2 separate regions of the Homo sapiens genome follow, and region 2 is linked to region 1. The links are contacts of gene promoters, found by promoter capture Hi-C in blood cells and fetal thymus (Javierre and others, 2016). All regions are on one chromosome and are shown on one strand. Each heading gives the region's core, a stretch centred on a gene start or on the middle of the fragment in contact. The rest is flanking DNA. Distances are from core to core; before and after follow the strand shown.

Region 1 (5,352 bases), core at 50-2,549:
ACCCGAGACGGGAAATGCGCGCTCACCTGGACAGCGCGGCTCAGCGGCACAGAATGCTGTCGCCCTGCTTGTTCACCGCGCCGGCCTGGAACAGCAACCGAACACCAAGGGAAAGGTTAGCAGGCGCAAACAACGCGCTCGACACGGTCCTGGATTGTCCTCGGAAATCAGGCTGGCGCGCCGACGCCCCCACCCCAGCCTGTAGCCGGGGGGGCCCCTCCGGGCTCAGGCGGGACTTGACAGCCCAGGGCGCCCACAGCCCCGAGTCCCGCCCTGCGCGTTCTCCCGGACCCGCGCTCGCCGAGCCCGGCCGGCTGCTGGCGGCCCGGGGGAGCCCGGAGGAGCAGGGGGAGGGGGCTGTCATTCCTGGCCCGCCCCTGCCCGGAGGACGGTGAGCGCCCGCGTCCCGCCACCACGCCACCAACCTCCCATCCCCCGCGGCGTCCGCCCACGGCCGGCGCCCGGCCTCTCACCGGGTCGGTGTTGAGCGCAGTGAGCGGGGTCCGCGGCGGCGCGGCTGGACAGGTCCCGGCCGGGTGGTGTGGCGGCGCGGGCGGTGGTGGCTGCCTCAGCAGGGCCGGGTGCGTCTCCAGCGCCAGCTGCAGGTCCAGGATGTAGTCGATAACGTGCTGCAGGATCTCCACTTTGCTGACTTTCTTGTTGGGCGGGATGGTGGGCACCAGCCTCCGCAGGCGGCTATAGCAGTCGTTCATATCGCACTGCAGGCACAGCGCCGGCTCGTCGGCCGCCGCCTCGGCCGCCTTACAGCGCGCTGCCGCCGCCGCCGCCGCCGCGGCTGCGGAGCCACCCAGGCTGTGGCCGTGCTCGGCCAGGCAGCGCAGCGCCAGCTCCCCGCCGCCGCAGCCCGACGGCGCCTTGCGGCCCGAGGGGCGCACCGGGCTCACCGCCTTCATCGCGCGCGCCCTGCGCTCTACGCGAGCGAACCCGCTGGGGCGAGCGAGGGAGGCAGGCAAGCTCCGGGCCCCGTCCGCGGCCGGCTCCGCTCCCTTTGCCTCCGCGCCCGGCGCGCTCGGGGCACCGCGACACTCCCGAGCCCAACAATTGACGGGAGGGTCGCTCTGGGTTTTACGAGGGAATCTTTGCTCAGTGGGCGACACTCAGCCCGAGCCCAAAGGAAAAAAAAAGCAAAAGCACCGGAAGAAAAGTAGCCCACCCGGGTGTCCTAGTCACTCCCTTCGGAGCTCCGACTAAGCCCGATCGCGGCCGCCGCGCTCCCCTAGCCCGGGATCACCCCACTCCCGGTACTACTCACAACCGCGCCTCCTCCACTACGCTCTCGCCCGGCCCGCCGCGCAGCTGTATTTATAGAGCCGTGCGCCCCGGGGGCGGGACCAGCGCGCGGGCCGGGTCGCAGCGCGAGCCGAGCGGAGCCCGCTGGGCGCGCGGGCGGGGGCGCGGAGGGAGAGGCGAGGGCGGGGGCTCCGGGCGGTGCTGGGGGGCGGGGAGTCCGGCTACCCGAGTGGAGGAGTGGGCGGGGGGTCTGGAGTGGCCAGCCAATCAGGCGGGCAGTGCCACCTCGGGGAATGACGCTCGGGCCAATGGGAAGGGCACTCCATTCCGTCAACGCTGTGGGTCGGGGTTCTGAGAAAAGAGAGCTGAGTGGGAGTCGGGCCAGGCTGATGTGTGCCCAAGGGAGGGGAAAAGAGAGAGCGAAGTTCCTGCGAAGAACTGCGGGAATGTGCGGCCGGAATTCACTCTCCACCGCCCCCCTTATCCCGACTAGGCTGCTGAGGGAGCGCCTGGGCCCTGCTCGCGGATACCCTGCCACTCCTAATAGCACGGCGCCCAGGGACCCTCCGCCACCCATCACTCCATCCGTGGGATTCCAGTGCCTTAAGAAAGACGCGCTGTTCAAGAAGGCACGTTCATTCTGTTCTATATTTCCCTCCTCCGTTTCATTATTCGCCTTTTCACATTTGCCGAAACCATAATGATGGAATGGAATGTGTAGCCTTTCCGTTTTCTTTTTAAAAAATGCTAAAGCTTAGCAAAAGTAGAAAAAAAAAGAAGGAAAAGAATGCCGAATCGAATGCAGGTTTTTGGTGAAGGGAATATAAATAAAACAAAAACGTGGGGGGGGTTCTTTTACCCCATCTAAATGCAAAAGTGGGCTCAAGAAATGCAGTTGCCTTGCGCATTCAATTAGAGCACGTAAAGATTAAAAATGCATGGACACGGAATATTTAAAATTCCATTATGACATATAATATTAATCTGTTTTATGTAAAATTCATACCTGTAACTTAATTTAGGCCATTAATGCACAGCTTCACGTATTAGTCAGCGTACCCCGCTTTAAATAAGGTGATGAGAATGTCCAGAGTCGCCTCCTTTGACAGCAAAGCATTAAAATTCACACTTCCAGTCTCTGGGATCCCGCTTGGGCCCCACCCTGCAAAAAAAAGCCTGTTAATTAAGGGCGTTTTTGTGTTAGATTTCTTAGAGAAAAGCTGTCCTTCAAGGGTTCAAAATAAAATTGCACAATGAGCTTTGGTGGAGCATTGTGTGTACCCTTCAAGAAAAAATTGAGCCCTTCAGATGAGAAAGGTGCATAAAAATTCTCAGACAATGGGGAAATGAATTTTGAGTGCCTTCACTCTACAAACCCTCCCACCTTTAGACACGCTTGGAGATGAATTAACCCAAGAATTTTCTTCATTCGTGTACATGACATGGATTGGTGTCTTCATTTTCATAGATAATTGAAAGAAAGAGACATGGACCTCATTTCTTCCTGTCTACCCCTATATGGACTTTTTCTACATCCATTCCCAGAACTGAAATACCTGCACCAGGCAGATATTTTGTTTAGCTATGTCAGTGCTTTATGACTATCGCACTATTCCCCAGAGCACATTCCTTTCTCCTGATGAAATGAGGAGCAACTATTTAATTCTGGTTTCACAGGTAGATGCAATAACCCTCCTCTCCCCTAATCCTTGTATGTTACTGCTTCTAATAATTGTTTGGAAACAAGTGCCATTCTCATTTATTTATGTGCATACGTAGATGGTCTACATACACATTAATCGAGAAAATCAGAATTATGAAACTCAGAAGGGCTTTCTTCTAAAGACAGGCATAGTCATATACATCATTAAATTAATGCAAATACAGAGAAAATGTTGTAATTTTAAATGGGAAGTCGGTGAAGCCAGCACTACTGGTTGTAAGCTATTATCTTGGAGCCAGTCATATGAGCACAGACGATAATAATAAATGGATATATGTACAGATGTTTTGTTCCATTGATCTTTCTCTTTCCTAGAGTTTAAAATTTGCTTCCAAATTCAAAACCCAAGACTTTCCTCTGTTTGGCAAAATAAAACTATGCTAATATGCCCAGGACACACTTACATTTAAACATTTTACATATCCTAACGATTAAAATTAAAATTTAAGTTTTGAATACGTAACACAAAGGAAGAATCATATCGACCTTTTTGGAATTTGCTAAATCTCAGAAAGCCATGCCTTGGGTGTGACAAGCGCCAAATGCCTAAGTTTCAGGTTTTGTTGGAGATGCTCTGTGTGACTGGCTTAAAGTTAGAAAGACTGAGTTACTCTGTGTGGGGTGGGGTGGAAGAGGTGGTTTCAAAGGAATGTACCTCAGCCACAAGATCAAGAATACCCAGGAAAGATGTGATCCGTAAATCCTGCTAGCAGAGTAGGCAGAGGCAGTTACTGTGCTCCTTGTTTTGAAGGTTGGAAGGCATGAAGACATTAAAAAATTAAAGTGCTACCATATACTATGGGAATAAGGAATACAATCCTGCACGTTTTGGTCCATGAAACCAGAGAGTACTAGGGGCTATGCAATGTATGTTTTTGTATTCTTAGACATAGACACTTACATGACATCAAAGCTGCAATCATGGAAGATTCCTGGCACTGATAATTCAAAACAGTTTACCCAATTATCACTCAGATTTTGGATAAACCTTACAAGCTATGTTATTTCTACTGTGCAGAGAAGGTAACTTAGTCTGTTGGTGACTCTTTTACATCAAAGTGTTTCACTTGCACTTGTAAAAGTAAAATGGGCTAACCCAAATCCTTTTGTCATGGAAATGCTCGAGACTCCCAAAATATACCTCAGTAGGAACCTAGAATGAAACATTCATAGGAGAATTGCTAGAAAGCCGTGATGACCAGAGTCATGGATACACCCTTCCTCCAGACAAAGAGGTCTGCTGTCCTCCCTGAGATGTATTCTAGCTACTAAATCAGGCCCTCACTGAACTGCAACACCCAGGCCTTTAGAAGTCATAGTCACCCTGTGTTTACATGAAGCAAGGGTATGGAAGCATATTGTGCTCTTCATTCCCAGTGCCTTTTTAGGACTTGATACTTGTTTCTCCATAGCCTCCAGGGAAACAGTGAGTGTACTCATACACAGATAAACGTGAATGTTCCAATGCCTTGGTCACTCTGTAGATTTGTCGTCACAGAAAGAGGCACATGCATTCTTTGAGGGCATAAGAAACCACTATGTACTCTGCAGCAGGACTGTCCCTTGCTCCCAAAGAGTAAGTTGGGCAATGTGGCAATTCAAGCTCAAGGCTGCTTTATCAGGCACTAAGTGTTACAAAATTACTTGTGCTACCCTTGGATTGCTGATACTAGTCCCGGAAATGCTGATAACCCCTTAGTTTGCTAGGTCCTGGAAAAGGCTTGTAGGAAGAGGACGTTGTACGTTGAACATGGCTGGGCAGATGTGGCTGTCAAAAATGCCTTGTTTGGGGAGTTTTAAAGGTAGTTGGTTTAAATAAGAAGTGACTTTTTGAAAGCCCCCCTTAGATTAAAAGACAGAAAAATGGGGAGAAATAAGTGGAATTTGTTTTTACCTTAGGAGATATAAACAGCATGGACTCTGAAGTGAGACAGCCTAAGCCCCAATTTTGGCCTCTTTGCTTATTAGTTTTATATCATTCAGCTGGGTTCTTAAATTCCTATACCTTTCATATTTGGAATGATTAAAATTGCATTTACTTCATAAGGTGTTTATGAGATACACATATTATATATATGGTCTCTGTAAAAGAAATTCAGTAAAGTTCTTAGAACAGTGGTTGGCACATAAGTGGGCAAACCATGTTACAATGTATTACCATTTTTGGCAAATATCTCTCAGTCTGTGGACTGACTTTTCATTTACTTCACAATCTTCTTTTAGAGCAGAAGTTTTGATTTTTTTTTTTTTTGAGACAGAATTTCACTCTTGTTGCCCAGGCTGGAGTGCAATAGCATGATCTTGTCTCACTGCAACCTCCGCCTTCCAGGTTCAAGCAATTCTCCTGCCTCAGCCTCCCAAGTAGCTGGGATTACAGG
Region 2 (4,973 bases), core at 1,733-4,232, 220 kb before region 1:
GTCAACAACTTTTGCTGGGAGAATAAGTAAATGAATGAACACATTATGAAAGTGCCTCAGGGCTTTGTGATCCATGAGAGATTGGCTGATAAGACTTTTGTTTCGCCATCACTGCCACCCCCACCACCACTAACATCATCATCATCATCATCATCACCATCACTATAGTTTTGTTGTTATCTCCCCAGTGAGCTCCAACCTATCCAGAGCTCTGCTGTGTGAGCTTTTCCAGATCCACAGTGTGCCAGCCAGCATTGCAATCAAGTTTTGTTTTCATTATGCAGGCTTCCTGTGAAGTTTTAAATTAATTTTAATCCTCTCCTCACTTTTAAGGCCTCTAAAAAGAGCTGTATTCCCACCTTCCTTGGTAAACTGGGGCCTATCCCATTTCCCTAGGACGGCTTTCATTCTGGCGAGGGCTGCGTGCTCCCACACCCCTGCACCACTCCGTGCCAGGGCAGTGGGCTTCCAGACTTCCAAGCTGTGGGCGGCCCTCCACCTGGGCTCTGGGGAAGCATGCCCAGTCCATGAGAGCCACGCCAACACCCACCTGGGTCTGATGGATCCTCAGCTTTTTAAAATTCACTCTACAACATGCATTATTTTTTGTTTTATTGTTTGCTTTTACCACTGTTAAAAGTAGACAATATGAAAACAATTATTCTGCAGAGCGTTACACATTTCTAACAGCCTTCCTGAAATGTTTGGTCTGAAGCTGCCTCTATGGTTGTGAGAAATATGTGTAGTACATTTTTTTCTCCTTTCTTGATAGAGATTTCCATTTTATTGCTGAGAATGGGTTAGAAGTTATTCACAGACCCACTCAGGAAAATGGAAGTTACTCTCATAATCTCTATTATGAGATAAAGAAATGGAAGTTACTCTCATAATCTCTATTATTTATTTAGTGCTTGCTAGTTCCAAGCTTGGCGTTAAGTATTTTCACATACTTGGTGTCATTAGAGCCTTACGACAACCCTATGCAGCAGATACTATTAACCTCATTTTGCAGAGGTTCAGAGAGTTTAAATAATTTGTTCAAGATCACAGAGCTGGCCGTGCTGAGATGGGGTCTTTTGTCCTCTGATTCTAAAGCTCACTCTCTTGTCACTACCCAAAGCTGTCTCTTTTCCAGCGTTTTCCAACTGCCAATCTTCATGAATGTCTTGGTTGCCTGAAGATGAATTTGTCCACCAAGAGTGAAGAGTTTAGTGATTTGAGAAGCTGTGGAAAGTAAATGAAATGAGATACAGGGCCCATTCTGCTGCTGGGCTTTTAAAGAGAGAGGTGAGCAAAGCAGGTCGGCTATTTTGGGCTTAGAGCCAAGCCTTCTGGGGCTGTCCCAGGGAAGAACATTGCTGAGTTGTGGGGTAGAGCTTAGTGATGGCATGGTGCAGAGACAGGGCCTAAGGGGAGCTGTCTCAAAACCACTTCCTCCTCCAGGGTTCCTTCTCTGTGGGAGCCATTCTACTTCCCCACCCATGGGGGAACCTCTCTCTGTATTTTTTCCCCCAACACTATTTCTAGGATCCAGACACTAGTAGGCGCTGGGCAGGGATAGATGTCATGCTGGCTGATACTGCTAACTGGATAAACTGTGTGGAGCCTCAGTTTCCCCCACTTCATGGTCAGCAGGCTTTTTAGAACAGAAAGAAATTTGACGGTCTCTCTAGGAACCATGGCCAGGTTCCCACTGTTAGACACACACATAAGGGTCTCAGATTCATCTCAGGCTTGGGCCTCCCATGTGGTAGCCGAGCCATCAGGCTGGCTGTGAAATGCCTTATTTTATTTTCTGCCTAACATCAGGTTGCAAATGAAAATACCTTTTCAACCCTAGTATTATTACCCCTATGGATGGCACGTTTAATGTGCGCTATTCATTGTTATAATGGCCGCACCTGTGTAGCACACGCACACTGGAACTGCAGCAGCTGTGGACTGTAATTGCAAAACATTATTTTCTGTTTCTCCCCGAAAGCTTTTGTGCATGTGCGCGTGTGTGTTATCTGTGTCCGTGTGTTTGTTTCATCTATAATGACTGTGGCCCAAAGATTCCCCATCCCTACCCCCCTTTTTAAACATAAAACTAAATGTAAATACACTTATTTCTAAATGCACATTTCAGTGAAAGTCAGATGCAACCCCCCATCCCTCCCCTACACATTCAGTAATGAGACTTCAGAGAGCTACTTCGGAGCGTGTGGTCTGTGGAAAGGTTCACGCAATCGCCGCTGCTGGGTGCAGTGGTCTTTATGCTCGTTGGCACACAGGCTCTCCCATGATTAATGCATTTGTTCCTTGATATTCAGCCCCTGCAGGACAGAGAATCAATTTAGCACTCACAGGCCCAGATTATCACCAGTACCAAAGACATTTCTGCACCAGGGGCTTCCCCATTCAAAACGAAAAGATATTTTTCTTTTCATTTTTTTCTTTTTTTAGAGACAGAGTCTTGCTCTGTCGCCCAGGCTGGAGTGCAGTGGTGCGATCTCGGCTCCCCGCAACCTCCGCCTCCCGGGTTCAAGCAATTCTCCTGCCTCAGCCTCCCGAGTAACTGGAATTACAGGCGCGCACCACCATGCCCGGCTAATTTTTGTACTTTTAGTAAAGACGGAGTTTCACCATGTTGGCCAAGCTGGTCCCAAACTCCTGACCTCAGGTGATCCACCTGCCTCGGCCTCCTAAAGTGCCAGCATTGCAGGCGCGAGACACTGCGCCCGGCCCAAACAAGATTTCTAAGAAGGATGTGTTTTTTTCCATTTGCCTCCATTGGTTCTCATGTCTGGTGGATGAGGAAAAGCACTGTCTGCGATTTGGTCAAAACAGTTGGCTTTTCTCCTTTCCGTGCACTTCTTTAATTTGCAGAGATGCCATGTAGCCCGCTGCTGCAATGACTGTGGGGGAAACCAAGGCAACGGTCTAGCACAGAATTGAGTTAACACCTTAGATCGTGCAGTAGGGCTCCTGGTCAGCCACCTGAAGGGCTGGAGAACAGAAGACAAGGCTATCAGCAGTGTTAGGGACATGCCGCAAGTTGGGGCTTCACCACCGAATTTCCCACCTGCGAAAACATGGATGAGGAAGACAGGGCTGTCAATTTCATCAGCCACATCCTCAGAAAAATGAATAGAGCTTCTCTGAGAAGTACTGCAGCTTTCCTCTAAGCCCTCGGCGAGATCCTGAATGAAGAGGGACATTGGGTTTATTGGACATTTAAACAGCGCTGAGAAGATCAAGTAATGCGGTCCTCATCCAGCAGAGCAATGAACTTCGTCGTCTTGCAGACTCCTCCACGTTGGAGACGCAAACCTCAGGCGTAAGCATGGGGAAGATGCTCAGTACTAAGTGGGCAGGCGCCTTCTTTGCACAATGCATAGCTCTTCACATAAAGCGTGTCCACCTTAACTGCCTTGCTTTATTGAAAACATTGGTAATGAGAATTGACTGATGGGAAGGGCCCACCCATTACGGTAAAGAAATGTGAGCATTTTACAAATTCTCAGGATATGAGCACAGATGTCTTTGTTTCTGAATGCTCAAAATATTACTGATGACCTTAAAATACATTGAAAAAAAATCAAATTCAAGACTATTTGGTTAGATGAATTTGAACCTATTATTAAAAGAGAGAAGTTGTAATTAAAAAAAAAACTGTAAAGAGAAAACCTGGTTGAGAGTCTACCCACCATTCTTCAAACCCTGTAAGAGTTAAGAAGTCCATGAATGAGATTTTTTAAAATCTGGTAAACTTTGTCAGTGTGATTATTTCTCTCTTGAAGAATCTGCTTAATTGGCAAAGTGGGCTTTCTGTTCTGTTAGGCATATGATTAGTGCTTTTATAGTGACTTGAGTTTTTGAGGCTATCAGTGCTGTGCAGGTAGAATAATAGAAAAGTCACAGCAAAATTATTTATTAACTCATGTAAACGAGTTTATAAATAAGCTGGAAAGCAGGGTTGTGGTGAATGCTTACTAAGCTTTTGTCCAGAAGGTGGCAACATTTCCTTAAGAATTTGGGAGAAAATGCTGGCTTCAGAAAATGACGATTTATCTTAGGACATTGTGTTCTGTTCTCTTTTCAAAGGTACAGCACAAAATGCACGTCCCCACACCCATGCTCCCTCTTTATTCTCAACAGATTCCAGGGAGAAATCTTGCCGTTTCTTCTCTTTATCTTTCTCTCTGGAGAGTAAATTTACATTGTTCAGATTTTCAAGCTGAGATGAGTTTATGCTGAAATGAATTTATGTAGCTGAAAATATTAGATTCTTAGTCTCCCCACTTCACTTCATCTCTCTGAAAGGTGGTGTTTTTGGAGAAAAGGGCCCATGTGAAGAGTCACTTACATTTCTAGCAGGTAAATCGGATGCCCACTCATAACCGTGAACGTGTCTTACTTTCTGAAAATCCCAACAAACCTCAAGATGACTATTTGCAGCGATAGCGCTTTGCTACACTGGATTGCTCTCTCGTTTCTTAATGTTTTGTTCATGCAAACATTAAGATCCAGAAGCAAGACAGAAGAGAGTGAGGACACTTGTTTGGGCTGAAGGAGTGAAAATAAAACAATGGATTAGGTTGTCCATATATGAACATTCCGAATCCTGCATGCAGCCCAGTGTCTTAATAGCAAGTTGGGGGAATCCTGTTCAGGAATTGGAAATGTTGGTTTGTTCATCTCTACTCCACCCCATCCCTATAGTCCCCCATTTCCCAGTATATTTTAATTTTGGGAAGCCATGGTGGTTGAAAACACACACATACATATACAAAAATGGGCCTGTTTTAAAGTAACTTTGAAAATTCATTACTTTACCCATGACTTTTGTTTCTGACTAGCATATCCATGTGTAACGTATTTCTTTCCTGGTTCAAAAAGAAAGTTGGAGTCAACTGTTAGAAAAGAAAATTTGAGTTAATTAAATATTATTTAGTTATCAAAATTGCTCCAAATTACAAAAAAGAATAAAA

Evidence for each region. The method cuts DNA at HindIII sites, captures the fragments that hold promoters and counts their contacts. A CHiCAGO score of 5 or more calls a contact.
Region 2: a fragment that was not itself captured here is called in contact with the fragment with the promoter of ID4 in region 1 in 1 of 17 cell types (megakaryocytes); the score reaches 6.8 in megakaryocytes.

The regions. Positions count from the first base shown.
Region 1 is chr6:19,833,317-19,838,668 of GRCh38, reverse strand. ID4 (inhibitor of DNA binding 4) reads right to left here and starts at 1,299. Exons shown (of 3, transcript NM_001546.4): 1 at 474-1,299; 2 at 27-85. The coding sequence starts at 914. The coding sequence ends at 41. The HindIII fragment of the contact is 2,827 bases long and covers 1-2,006 here.
Region 2 is chr6:20,055,604-20,060,576 of GRCh38, reverse strand. No RefSeq gene overlaps it. Among named protein-coding and RNA genes, the nearest start is that of MBOAT1, 150 kb to the left of the region's middle. The HindIII fragment of the contact is 1,998 bases long and covers 1,984-3,981 here.